2 separate regions of the Homo sapiens genome follow, and region 2 is linked to region 1. The links are contacts of gene promoters, found by promoter capture Hi-C in human tissues and cell types (Jung and others, 2019). All regions are on one chromosome and are shown on one strand. Each heading gives the region's core, a stretch centred on a gene start or on the middle of the fragment in contact. The rest is flanking DNA. Distances are from core to core; before and after follow the strand shown. Region 1 holds the start of CDC42BPG (CDC42 binding protein kinase gamma). Region 2 has its middle 4.5 kb from the start of LINC02736.

What was found. Contacts are between HindIII fragments. The study calls those that stand out against the background at their distance.
Region 2: a fragment that was not itself captured here is called in contact with the fragment with the promoter of CDC42BPG in region 1 in 1 of the 25 tissues and cell types used here (spleen).

The regions. Positions count from the first base shown.
Region 1 is chr11:64,841,515-64,848,504 of GRCh38, reverse strand. It overlaps CDC42BPG (CDC42 binding protein kinase gamma), which reads left to right and starts at 3,852. Exons shown (of 37, transcript NM_017525.3): 1 at 3,852-4,095; 2 at 6,601-6,692; 3 at 6,772-6,855. The coding sequence starts at 3,936. RefSeq lists enhancers at 897-966, 4,377-5,189, 5,214-5,508, 6,002-6,814 and silencers at 1,267-1,356, 3,673-4,022, 4,033-4,082, 4,113-4,162. The HindIII fragment of the contact is 4,484 bases long and covers 2-4,485 here.
Region 2 is chr11:65,489,072-65,496,061 of GRCh38, reverse strand. No RefSeq gene overlaps it. Among named protein-coding and RNA genes, the nearest start is that of LINC02736, 4.5 kb to the right of the region's middle. RefSeq lists enhancers at 1,910-2,204, 2,450-2,579, 2,071-2,582, 2,583-3,093, 3,930-4,224 and 3 more, a cis regulatory region at 1,929-2,171 and silencers at 1,910-2,204, 3,899-4,400. The HindIII fragment of the contact is 5,007 bases long and covers 537-5,543 here.

The sequences.
Region 1 (6,990 bases), core at 2,603-5,102:
CTGGTGAGAAGGAAAGGAAAGAGGGTGGCCTGACTGCCTGGACAGGGTGTGACTGAGGCTCTCGGGGGTGTCTCCTGTCAAGACTCACCCATCCCTGTGAGCTGGGCCTTGGGCTGTGCCATGCTCAGGGCTCTGTGGGGAGCGTGTCAAGGCTGCTGTGGCCCTAGTGGTCTGGCCCCACAGGATCAGAAAACAGATCTGCTGAGCCAACATGGTGCCATGCCCTGGAGCTGCTTCGGGCAGTCAGGGCTGGAGGCCTGGCTGCTTGCTAAGGCTGGAATAAGCTCAGAAAGAGACTGAGCCTTTACAGACTTCCTTCCATTGGAGCTGCAAAGGAATGAGCAGGGGGCCCAACCCTCCCCCTTTATTTTTATTTATTTATTTATTTTGGAGACATGGTCTCATTCTGTCACCTAGGCTGGAGTGCAGTGGCACAATCTCAGCTCACTGCAAGCTCTGCCTCCCAGGTTCAAGTGATTCTCCTTTCTCAGCCTCCCGAGTAGCTGGGACTGCAGGTGTGTGTCACCATTCCAGGCTAATTTTTGTATTTTTAGTAGAGACAGGGTTTTGCCATGTTGACCAGGCTGGTCTTGAATTCCTGGGCTCAAGTGATCCGCCCACCTTGGCCTCCCGAGTAGCTGGAACTACAGGCTCTCACCACCACACTCAGCTAATTTTTAAGTTCGTTTGTAGAGATGAGGTCTCACTATGTCACCCAGGCTGATCTTGAACTTCTGGGCTCAAGTGATCCTCCCACCTCGGCCTCCCAAAATGCTGGGCTTACAGGCATGAGCCACCATGCCCGGACCCAACCCCCTTTTACAGACAAGGAAATTGAGGCTTACAAGACAGATGTGACAAAAACTAATAAAGGACCAGAAAGAATCACGTGTGAGAGGCGGGAGGTGCCGAATGCCAGTCCCAGCCCTGCCCCGTGCAGCCCTGGCCTCAGCCCTGGGACTCAGTGTCCACTCAGCTATACTGTGTGGGGATGGACAGATGGCTGGGGATGAACCTTTCTGAGAACTTACCAGAGAGGTTAAGGGACTTGCCTGAGGTCACACAGGGAGTGAGGCAGGGCCCAGAGGCCTCACCAGGGGTGTCCACGAGGGGCAGCGGAGGAGAGGCCCATCTTCCCACCCAGGAGCCCTTCCCTATCTCCGGTTCCCTAATGCTGGCTGGAGCGCCTGTCCCTCCTCTGGTCTCTGGCGCCCCCGTGTGGCCTCAGTGAGCAAGCCCCTTCCTACCTCCTGTGGGCTCCACCCCTGCCCCGCCCCTATAAGGAGGGCTCAGAATCTCTCAGGTGAGAGGGATCTGAACTCCTGCCCCCTCCCCCTTCCAGGAGACCAGAGGCAATGAAGGGGATCCCCAGAGTTTGGTTTGAATCCTGGCTCCCCATCCCATTCTGGTTGATTTAGGTAATACACCCAGACTCTGTTTCCCCAAACATTTCTCAGCCCATGGGCCCTGCGTAGCTACAGGGCGGGCCTCTGGGGAGATCACATGGGAGGCAGGGCGAGTCTGAGACCAGCCCCGGGCAATGTAGAGAGACCCCAGCTCTAAAAAAAAAATTAAAAATTAACCAGGCGTGGTGGTGCAGGCTTGCGGTCCCAGCTACTCAGGAGGCTGAGGTGGGAGGATCACTTGAGCCCAGTATGTTGAGGCTGCAGTGAGCTGAGATTGCATCACTGCACTCCAGCCTGGGTGACAGAGCAAGACCCTGTCTCAAAAAAAGGCTGGGTATGGTGGCTCATGCCTGTAATCCCAGCACTTTGGGAGGCCGAGGTGGGCGGATCACCTGAGGTCAGACCAGCTTGGCCAACGTGGCAATATAGTGCAACCCTGTCTCTTTAAAATAAATAAATAAATAAACAAATAATCACATGAAAAACCCTTCGTGGGGAGAAACACCCTGTTTGCTTCAAACATTCATGGAACACCTCCTCCCTCAACCTGATCCTGCCCCCATCTCAGCGAGGTCCCAGTACGAGAGGAGAGGCAAACCCCTAAACAGGTCTTTTAATGAAATAATGTGTTGGCCAGTGGCTACAGCCTGTAATCCCAGCGCTTTGGGAGGCTGAGGCAGGCAGATCACTTGAGTCCAGGAGTTTGAGATCAGCCTAGGCAACATGGCGAAACCCCATCTCTATAAAAAATACAAACATGGCTGGGCCCAGTGACTCACGCATGTAATCCCAGCACTTTGGGAGGCCGAGGCAGAAGGATCACCTGAAGTCAGGAGTTTGAGATCAGCCTGGCCAACATGGCAAAACCCTATCTCTACTAAAAATACAAAAATTAGCTGGGTGTGGTGGCACATGCCTATAATCCCAGCTACTTGGGAGGCTGAGGCAGGAGACTCTCTTGAACCTGGGAGGCAGAGGTTGCAGTGAGCCGAGATCGTGCCACTGCACTCTGGCCTGGGTGACAGCGTGAGACACCATCTCAAAAAACAAAACATCAGCCTGGCCTAGTGGTGTGAGCCTGTAGTCTCAGCTATTCGGGAGGCTGAGGTGGGAGGATCACTTGAACCCAGGAGGTTGAGGCTGTGGTGAGCTACGATTGCACCACTGCACTCCAGCCTAGGGGACAGAGTGAGACCCTGTCTCAAAAAAGAGAAAGAAGTGTTGTCTAGGCCGGGTGTAGTTGCCCATGTCTGTAATCCCAGAACTCCGGGAGGCCAAGGTGGGAGGATTACCTGAGCCCAGGAGTTCGAGACCAGCCTGGTCAACATAACAATAACCCTTGACTCCAAAAAGTAAAATAAAAAATCAGCTGGGTGTGGTGGCATCTGCCTGTAATCCCAGCTACTCAAGAGGCTGAGGCAGGAGCCTAAGAGGTCAAGGCTGCAGTGAGTTATGATTGCATCACTGCACTCCAGCATGGGTGACAGAGAGACCCTGTCTCAAAAAAAAAAAAAAAAAAGTGTTGTCTGAAGCCACCAATATGTCCCACCCTTTGATCTCTCCTCATGGTGCCTGGTCCATCCCAGCTGGACAGAAATCAGAAATACCACTGGACAGAGCCAGCCCCTCCCCTCCCCAACCTCCTCCAGCCTATCTCAGACCTCTCCTTGCCCTTCACGTTCCAGGTCAGACCTCAGGCCCTGCTCCTACTGAAGCTTAAAACGCCTGTGGTGTTGGTACCAGCCCAGCTCCACCTCCACCCCAGGGTCTAACTTAAGAGCCACCTTGTCCTCAGCCCCTCAATTCGCCTTCCTCCTTCCCAAGCCTCAGTGTGTCCATCTGCCAAATGGGCGTGACCATCCCTACCCCAACTTCCTGTCTCCCACATCAACTCTAATGATACAATCAAAGTAAGATTCAGAAACTTTTTTTTGGGCGGGGGCGGGGGGGCGATGGGTGCCAAGCGCGGGCAAACCATGGAGAGAGCGAACTACAATTCCCATCCGGCTCCGGGGCCGCGGGCGTCCCTAGCCCCTCTCTCTTAGCCAAGGGCAAGGCGGCTGCGACCCAGGGGGCGAGAGAAGTTGCAGTGCTCCGCGCCTCCTGGGTCAGGGCCCAGGGAGGGCCCAGGTAAGTCTGGGTCTGGGGCCGCGCGGGGATCTGGGGAGTCTTTCCGACCCCGCAGAACCCCACCGCGCCCCGCGCAGAAGTCAGTTGTTCTCCCCGGCCCGCCCCCGCACTTCCTGGCCGGGAGTTGGGCCCGCCCCCGCGCGCCTCCGCCCCCACCTTCACCTCTAGCCGCGGCTCCCATTGGCCGGCGCGCACCTGCCCGTCCGTCGGGGGGCGGGGCGCGGCGCCCAGGTGAGGGCGCGCTGGCGGCGGCGGAGGAAGGTGACAGCGGGGAGGGCGGGAGAGGGGCGGGGGAGGACGCGCGGACAGAGCCTCAGACGGTTGGGCGGACGGACGGCCCGACAGGCGGGCATGCGGGCGGCCAGACTGTAGCCGAGCAGCGAGGCTCCGGCCGCAGCCATGGAGCGGCGGCTGCGCGCGCTGGAGCAGCTGGCGCGGGGCGAGGCCGGCGGCTGCCCGGGGCTCGACGGCCTCCTAGATCTGCTGCTGGCGCTGCACCACGAGCTCAGCAGCGGCCCCCTACGGCGGGAGCGCAGCGTGGCGCAGTTCCTGAGCTGGGGTGAGTGGCGGGGCGGCACGGAGCGGGGGCGGGCCTAGGGATATCGCGCCGAGACCCCCGCACCCGCAGACTTTCCCGCAGGGACCCGCACCCCCACGGGCTTCCCTCGCAGACTCCCTGCAGTGGCCCTGACGCGTACCACCGGACCCCCGCGGCCCGCACACTCGCCTGCACACCTCACCCTCACTCCAATTCTCACACACGCTCTCTCCCTCTCACAGACCCCGACACATGCACACACATACCAACTTGTGCTCAGGTATCGACCGCAGACGCATGTACCCAGTGCACCGCCTAGAGTCCCTTACAGATTTCCTTGCTTACAGGCCACACCTGACGCAGGACACACACAGACCCTCATGCATGTCACCCACTGATACACGGGCTCTGTTTCTCCTTCCTCTCGGATGCATTGAGACACACAACTCATGGAGAGACCCAGGGAGCGCTGCAGACCACCCCGACCGCATTGGCACTGCAAAACACACAGATCTGTAGGTATCGCACACTTGCAGACCTTCCCCCCACCAACACACACACCCCCAGCTCCCTGGGTACAAGACCACTGCAGCCTGGACTCAGGAACCGATCTCCAACCCTTGGCCTGTGCAGGCTGCTGGCCAAGCTCCTTGGGGGCTGTGGCGCCGGGGCCGGGGAGGGGGGCCTAGCTGGAGATGGGTCTGTACCTTTCCTGGTAGACTCATCTGAGTCATTGGGAGTGGCTGGCCCGGGGTGACCCTGAACCCACTGTGGGCACTGGCGCCAGCTGGAGGGTTCCCTGGTCACACCCTGCCGGGCCATGGGGAAAAGGCACGGGGGCCTGGCCAGGGCGGGGTGAGGCAGGTGTTTGCCCAGTGGGCAACTAGCGTTCCTGGCACTCCTGAGCTCTGGGAAGGCACAAGGCCTGGGGTAGAGGGGGAGGCTGCCACCTAGATGTGCCAGGGAGTTGTCCCCTAGCCCCAACCCTTCCATCCAGGGCGAGGCAGTCAGAGGCCCCTGCCTCTGTGCCTGTCTCCCTGGTATGCCTCCGTGCTATGCCTGTCTGCCTGTGTTGTTGTCACCCCCCCCATGACACCCACACACGTGTGTGTGTTTGCACACACATGTGTGCTCCTCCCTGACTGCCTCCAGCACCTCTGCCTGGGACCCCGGCATGGGGGCCCTCTGTTGACAATCTCCCAAGGTAACTCAAAGGGCTGTGACTCATTCCTCTCCTGCTTGTCTCTACTTGTCCCTGCTCCTGCCCGGAGCCCCCATGCCCTGTGGGAGGCCAGAGGATTAGGCAGCCTGTCCAGGGGCCTGGATCCTCCTGCCTGTGGGCCTGGGCTTCGGCCCTCTTCTGGCGGGTGGGTCCCTATGGTGCTGGCTTCAACTCCCACGGGGAGGCCCGGGGCTGCTCCTCCCCAGCTCCACACACAGACCTGGGAAAGAGACAATGAATTTCTGTAATGAGGTTTCCACCCCGCCCCCGCTGCGGGCTTCTGCCTGATAAACCTGTGGAACAGCTCTCTGTCCCACCCACAGACCCGCCCAGCTGGCAGGGAGTTTACCTCCTGGCAGGGGGAAACTGAGGCAGGGCGCCAGACCACAGCTGCCCCCCATCCTGACTGATCACTCCTGCCTCCCTAAGACCCAATTCCTTCCCAAAACCTGGGGCTAATCCAGGCCTGGAAAGTGCCTGGGAGTGGCTGGAGTTGCCCTTCCTGGAGGTATCTGGGATGTGAGGAAAGAGGACGTTCTTGACCAGACAAAAGCTTCGTCCAGACAGGGAGGCAGGGCTGGGAGTGAGAGAGCCGGTCAGGCCTGGAGGCATCCTGAGCACTCACGCCTTCAGGGGCTAGTGCTAGCACCAGGGAAAGGCATCTTTGTCCTGTTTGTGAGTCTCAGCACCTTGGCAGACTGGCATCCATGCCTCCAGCCTGAGGGGCCCCACGTGGGAAGCATAGAGCCTGTCCTCCCTGCCCTAGGGGCTGCAGGCCTCACCCCCAACCAGGCACCTCTATGCCTACAGGGTCCCGGGACCCAGGCCCACAGCTCCTGAATGGGAGAGAAGCCTCTCTGGGGATAAGGAATGTCACCCGTCCAGTTTCCTAAGACAGGCCCTGGCCTGAACCTGTGAGGGGGCCAAGAACTGTGAGGTGGGGGTAGGAATGGTGTCCCCATGGTCCCCAGGGTGACCTGGCCAAGCAGAGTCAGGCCGCAGACTGGGCAGGACTACAAGTCCCATCAGCCCCTGGGATGGAGGCTGCCTAGAGTCTGGGGCCAGGGGTCCAGGGAGGTCCAGGGACCAGGCGGTCAGCTGAGCCCGGCCTCTGACCTTCCGCACTTCCTGATCATGGCCAAAGGAGCACCAGTTCCTGCCACAACCCCTTGGCCCGAGGCTGTCCCTGGGGAGGTCATCCCTGCCTGGGCTCACAGGAGCGGCAGCTCCTGGCTTGCCCAAGGTGAGAGGGGGAATGGAGCCCTCCCTCCCTGCACTCTGAGTCCCGCCCTGTGTCCCCTCAGCCAGCCCCTTCGTATCAAAGGTGAAAGAACTGCGTCTGCAGAGAGATGACTTTGAGATCTTGAAGGTGATCGGCCGAGGAGCCTTTGGGGAGGTGAGCAAAGGGCCTGGGGTAGGTGGGGGGAGGTGTTCACACCGGGCTGGGCTCACCCCGGTCCTCCCTGTGGCCTTAGGTCACCGTGGTGAGGCAGAGGGACACTGGGCAGATTTTTGCCATGAAAATGCTGCACAAGTGGGAGATGCTGAAGAGGGCTGAGGTCAGTGTGGAGTCTGGGGGGCCCTTGGGCACCCTACAAATGGGTGTGGGGGAGGTGTATGCTGCCAGGGCCTATGGCGCGGGGGGGGCGGGCAAGGCTGCAGACCAGGCAAAGGGTGCCACCCTCAGCAGCCAC
Region 2 (6,990 bases), core at 1,791-4,290, 650 kb before region 1:
TGTAGTTTTAGCAGAGACAGGGTTTCACCGTGTTAACCAGGATGGTCTGGATCTCCTGACCTCGTGATCCGCCCGCCTCGGCCTCCCAAAGTGCTGGGATTACAGGCTTGAGCCACTGTGCCCAGCCGCCAGAATGTTGTACAGTCATCCCTTGGTATCCATGGGGCCTTGGTTCTAAAACCTCTCCTCGGATGCTAAAATCTGAAGATGCTCAAGTTCCTTATGTAACCTACAGATATCCTCCCATATCCCTTAAATCATCTCTAGTTTGCTTATAATACCTAATACAACGTAAATAATTTTTATATTGTATTAATGAGGGAGTAATAACAAGAAACGAAGTCTGTATATGTTCAATACAGATTCAATTTTTAAAAATTTTTCTTTTTTTTTTTTTTTTTTTTGAGATGGAGTTTCACTCTTGTAGCCCAGGCTGGAGTGCAATGGCGCGATCTCGGCTCACTGCAAGCTCCACCTCCCAGGTTCAAGCGATTCTCCTCCCTCAGCCTGCCGAGTAGCTGGGATTACAGGTACGCACCACCACGCCCGGCTAATTTTTTTTGTATTTTTAGTAGAGACAGGGTTTCACCATGTTGGTCAGGCTGGTCTCGAACTCCTGACCTCAGATGATCTGCCTCCCTTGGCCTCCCAAAGTGCTGGGATTACAGGTGTGACCCACCATGCCCGGCCTTTAAAAATATTTTTGATTCACAGTTGTTTGAATCCACAAATGTGAAAACCCATAAAGGGGCCAAGGCGGTTGGATCACATGAGGTCAGGAGTTCCAGACCAGCCTGTCCAACTTGGTAACACCCCGTCTCTACTAAAAATGCAAAAATCAGCCAGGTGTGGTGGCGTGCGCCTGTAATCCCAGCTACTCAGGAGGCTAAGGCACAAGAATCACTTGAACCCGGGAGGCAGCGGTTGTGGTGAGCCGAGATCGTGTCACTGCACTCCAGCCTGGGCGACAGAGCAAGACAACGTCTTTAAAAAAAAAAAAAAAAAAAAAAACTCTAAAAAATGAAATAATAAAAAAAGACAGCCTAAAATTGCCATGTACTTTAGTGAGGAGATTAATAATATATTTGATTATGTGGCCTTCTCAGCACTCTTGGAACTAAGGATCTTTTTAACATAACACTGAATTTTTTCAAGCACCTTTTCTCTGGACTGCGTCTGTGCTCCTTTTAATTTCATAATGTCTGATGGAAGCTGCCCCCTCCACTAGTCCTTTAATATCATGTTTGTTCCCTTTCACTTTAGTCTCAAACCTAGACTTCATTTGGGCCTAAGGACACAAATATAAGAGGGCAAATTTGTTTTAGCCAGTCATCTCATGCTCCCCTCAAAAAAGCCCAGGCTAAAAATAGAATGCCCTTGGTTCTGGTTTCTGGCAATTACTCCACTGACAAACAGCCCTGTGACCTCAGGCACCAACCCAAATAACTTCCCAGTAGCAACTGAGATATGTAAAATGAGAGGATTCCATGCAAGAAGCCATGATGCTGATTCTATAAAATACAGTAAACAAAGGGTTGGGGAGAGGACATGAAAGACTTTAGGCTGGAGCCGGGCGTGGTGGCTCATGCCTGTAATCCCAACACTTTGGGAGGCTGAGGCAGGCGGATCACCAGGTCAAGAGATCGAGACCACCCTGGCCAACATGGTGAAACCCCATCTCTACTAAAAATACAAAAATTAGCTGGGGTGTGGTGGAGGGCACCTGTAGTCCCAGCTACTCGGGAGACTGAGGCAAGAGAATCGCTTGAACCCGAGAGGCAGAGGTTGCAGTGAGCTGAGATGGTGCCACTGCACTCCAGCCTGGCAACAGAGCAAGACTGTCTGAAAAAAAAAGAAAAAGGAAAGATCTTAGGCCTCCTGGCTGTACCTTCGAGAAGGCGGGGTGCTGAAAAGGACTAAAAGGGCAAAAATTTTGCATCCAGCCTCCAAGCATACAGTCAGCAAGGCCCTACCTTAATCCTCCTGACTCAGGCCAGGCCGGAAACCTCCAGAGAATGCCAGAATCCACTCCACCCCTTCCCTGATTGGCAAGTCCAGTCAGGCTTAGTCAAGAGACAAGCTTCTGAGAGATCCGTCATCTACGGCCCTGGAGCCCAGAGGCCGCAGTGGCTGAGTCTTCATGGCACCTGGATTCCTCCCAGGCCTCCTTTGATTTTATCTAATCCTGTAATTTTTTCTTTAATTCTGCATTTCTAGAGCTCTCTAGAAATGCAGGTCAGAAATGAAGGGCAAAGACAGTCCCAAGAAAACAACTTTCTTGGTTTTTGTTTTTTTTTTTTTCCTTGAGACAGTTTTTTGCTCTTGTCACCCAGGCTAGAGTGCAGTGACGGGATCTCAGCTTACTGTAACCTCTGCCTTCCGGGTTCAGGTGATTCTCCTGCTTCAGCCTCCCAAGTAGCTGGGATTGCAAGTGCCTGCCACCATGCCCGGCTAGTTTTCATATTTTTAGTAGAGACAGGGTTTTACCATGTTGGCTAGGCTGGTCTGAAACTCCTGACCTTAAGTGATCCGCCTGTCTCTGCCTCCAAAAGTGCTGGGATTACAGGCATGAACCACCACACCCAGCCCAAACTTTCTTGTTTTCTAAAGATTTTAGGAATTTGCAGTTCCCAATCCCATCCCCTGGCTGCCCACCTTCCCAGAGCCGATTTCTGGAACAATGTGACCTTCCGTAGCTGCTGCACAAACTTAGGCTCCCTCACCTACTGTGACCGCCCCCACAGCAGGAAAAAACCTACAGAGATGATGCAGCTCAGAGCTCTATGATATGGAAGACAGAGCATTGTTTTCTAGGGGGTTTTGGACAGCTAATAATTTACCCTGTAGAACATGTAAAATTATCCCTTGAAACCCAGCAGACAGGCCTGTCACTTCACAGAGAGCTGAGGGCAATTCCAGCAAGAATGAGTTACAGAAACTAGAAGTGGCTGTGTCATTGACCTTCCCAAAATGATATGCGGAAGAGGCAGCTGGGGCCTCTTCCATCACAGCCCTGAATCACCAGGGCAGGAGGGTAGGGGAAACAGATTCTCTCTTCCTGAGACAAGAAAACATCTTCTAAATGTACCCACCTCTACTTCTAGCAAGCATTCCTTGTTAGATAGAATCCTCTTTCGGGGAGGGGAATAAAGGAGAAAGTGTCTTTTTTGTTGTTGTTGTTCTTTCTTAGGAGAAAGTGTCTTAAGAAAGCAATTCCCCACCCCCTGCCTGAGAGTTCCAGGCTCCTAGTTCCTTCCTTGGTCTATTTGCTGCGTAATGTACTTGGCCCTGGGCCCTGAAGCCTATTGGTGGATCCTCCCGAAAGGCCTGGCTGTGGCAGCCCAGCTGTAGCACTGTGGGCTGTAGGAGGACAGATTGACATCGAGGGGCACAACTGGGCTGTCCCCCATGCCTTCCTGGGGGCTGCGTCTGTAGAACCGTCTATCCACTCCATGTGCATCTTTATTTTCTGTAACGTGTATTGAGTGCTGTGCCTCACAACAGCCCTGTGGGGGAGGTGGTGTTGCTTTCCCCTTAGACGGATGAGGAAACTGAGGCAAAGAGCTGTCATTTGCCAGATCACTAGAGCCTGGCACACAGTAGAAGCTCCATGTGTGTCTACTGAGTAATGACTCAATGAATACATTGGAATAGTATCTTTTTTGGAATTTATAACACACACACACACACACACACACACAACCAGAATACTGAAAAGCTCCCACAGGAACAGATCATTCCACAGGAACAGATCATTCCACAGGAACAGAACGGATTTAGACTTGACGTAAATTCGAATGCCCATCAGGATGGAGTGGAATGGGACTGAGCTAGCTGTACTGCGTGGGAAACTGGGAACTGCTTTGCTCTGGAGGTCTGTTCAGAACTTCTGAACCAACTGCCATCCACAGAGACAGGGGAGAAAACCCAGAGGCCACCTGTGGTTTCCATGCAGCTCTGATGGAGCATTCACCCCTCTACCTCCTACCCGCCCCCTGCCCAGTGCAGGGTAGTGAGCCCGGCTCAGCCCTTGCTGTCCTTGCCCCATGATGAGTCACCGCGGGAGACGCCTGCTGAGTGAACCTTCCCAAGTGGCCTGAAGGAACAATGAAGCTCTCAGGGAGTCGCAGCCGCGTTCTTGTGTCCCTGATCTTTTCAGTCATGCTTCAGGTCCCTGGCAGATGTTTGTATTGGCCTGGCACACCCAGCATGAAGCTGATTAAACATCCTCCATGAGCATGCTCACACACACACACACACACACACACGTATATTCATTCTTCCTCATGCAAGTGTGGCCCACATCCCACAGACACACATCTCCTGGGACAAGGGGGTAGCGGCCACAAGGTTTCAGGCACTTTGTCGGGGTGTGTTTCTCAACAATGCCGGATTAAAACAGAAGCCCGCAGAATGACAGGGCCTTCTCCTGAACTGGTAATAGTGGATCAGAGCCACCCAGTGTTTGAGTGGAATAAACCTCTAGGTAGCAAGTTCCCATTCCCACAGGTATCCTCTGGAAGCTGGGTGACCTTCCTAGGGTTCCGCAGTATCCCTGCATTGCGAAGAAGCTGGTCAAGAAAACTTGAGATTTTTCTTCCAATCCTGAAAATCCATAATTCTAAGTAGCCCCTCATGCTACAATTGAAGAATCTAAGACTCAGAAAAGTTACATTCCCACAGCACTTTTTAGAGATGCAGGCAGATGGCCTCTGGGGCCCGGACATCTCCCTGAGTTAGCTGTAGGGACACTCACGCCCTGGCTGCCCATCCTGTGGGCTTTCTCCTGGAAGCTTATCCAAGGGGTCAGGCTGCATTCGGTCTAGCCATGAGGGGAACAGATTAGTACAGGAAGTGATACAACAGGAACAGGGCCCAGGAGAGACTGTGTTCTGGCTAGAAAATTCCAGAAGCCAGGCTGGGCGTGGTGGCTCACGCCTGTAACCCCAGCACTTTGGGAGGCCGAGGTGGGCAGGTCATTTGAGGTCAGGAATTCGAGACCAGCCTGACCAACATGGTGAAACCTCGTCTCTACTAAAATACAAAAATTAGCCGGGCATGGTGGTAGGCGCCTGTAATCCCAGCTACTCGGGAGGCTGAGGCAGGCAGGAGAATCGCTTGAACCCGGGAGGCGGAGGTTGCCATGAGCCGAGATTGCGCCACTGCCCTCCAGCCTGGGCGACAGTGAGCCTCCATCTCAACAACAACAACAAAAAGGATGTGTAGGATTTAATAGACTTTTATGAGGGGCAGGGGGTGGGGAATATCCCAGACAGAATAGGTAAACAGAGGCCCTGCACCTGCACACCCCAAATTGGTAATGCTTGTGCGGGGAGGAGGAAATGACTGGCCAGGTGGGTGCTGGGTGTGGCTGTTGGCAGGAAAGCAAGAGAAGACTGCAGTGAGGTCTGGGCTGGCGTGGACACCTGGAGAGGGCCATGGACATGGCTCTTAGGGCAGAAGGATGGCTTCTGAGCTGGGAGAGGCCCTGGCTTCCGGAGGCATTGTCTGGCTGCTCTGGGCAGGATGGCAGAGCTGGGAGAGGCAGCAGAGGGGAGGGCACTGAGGCCCAGTGCCATAGCCCAGGCCAGAGGTCATGGGGCCTGGATTGGGAGTGGGGGGGTGGCCATGGGACAAGAGAAAGGAAAAGCTGTGAAAGAGTGGCCTGAAGCTGCCTGTGCCTGCAATGAGGGCCCCCTCCCTCCTGTCTCTTAGTGCCCCGGCCCTTCCAGATTCCTGGTCTTTGCTGTCTTTGGCTCGTCTTCTGGGAATGCTCCTCTACAGCTCTTCAGAAGGCAGACTCCTCGTCACCCTGACCACAGGGCACTCCTTGCACAGGACCCCTCTGGCCACTGTATCCAAAGTCGCCACTTATCACCACCCCATCAGTAGTCTCTGTCCCAAGGCAGCCTACATTTTCTCGGATGACTATGTGTTTGTTAACAGGGCTCCCTCGCTCCTCTGAGGATCAAAGGGGACAAAGGGGATTCCAGAGTTTCCAGTCCGGTTGGCAGGGAGGCCTCAGGCTCACTCCCAGTACAGACATGAGAGAGAGGCAGGTCTGTGTCAACTCCACCGAGGAAGGGTCCCTCTCACCCTGGACAAAGGGCAGGGACAACATAGGGATGTCATTTTGCATTCCCAGCTGCTGCTGCTGTTCAGGAAGGCCTAACAGGAGGTGGGGTGGAGCCTGGAGCCCAGAGTAGGGAAAGGAAGGCCGGGCAAGGGGAAGGAGCTGCCAAGGTCTTCCCAGCTCCTCTTTCCCCTTGAAGTCACTTTTTCCCCTTGGAAGCTTCTAGAGATAGACATATAAAATACTCCCCCTGAGAAAACAGTGGACCTGGATCATTTCTGGAGAGCAGAAGTGCTGAACCCACAATATTTAGGTGCCCCTGGGCTTCTTCCGCCCCTGCTGCCCTTACTCTGGGGGAGGCACATTGGTGATGAGCTGATGTGACTCGAGTACTGCTGTGACGGAGGAGGCTGTTACTCCTCCTCTTTGCCCTCCCAGGAGCAGGGACCCTGGGGCGTCTGGGACCTGTCAGGCACGGGGGATGGCTCTGGTATTTCATGGCAGCTCAATGCCCCACATGCCTGAAATTCTGATGCGTCCACTCCACCGGCCTTCTGTGGCTGTCCCCGTGACCTGGAGGCTGTCCTCGGCCTCTTCAAGCCTGCAGCCCCCACAAGCGGAACTCAGCCCAGCAGGGCCTAGAAGAATGTGGAGCTGGGGACTGAGTGCTGGGAAAGGAATCTGGGTGGAAATTTCCATGACTCTTCTGCTCAAGCAAAGACTGCAGCTGAGGCCCAAGATGTCAACAGAGACCAGGGCCCAGGTCACAAAGGGTCACTTTTCCTCTCTCTGGGCTCTTTATCACCTACTGCCCCACCCTGAGCCAAGGCCATAAACCTCATGCAGTCCAGCCTCCTCTGTTCCTGCCCCCCCCACCCCCACCCCCACTGTTTGTGGCAGCAAGATCCCTACTTTCC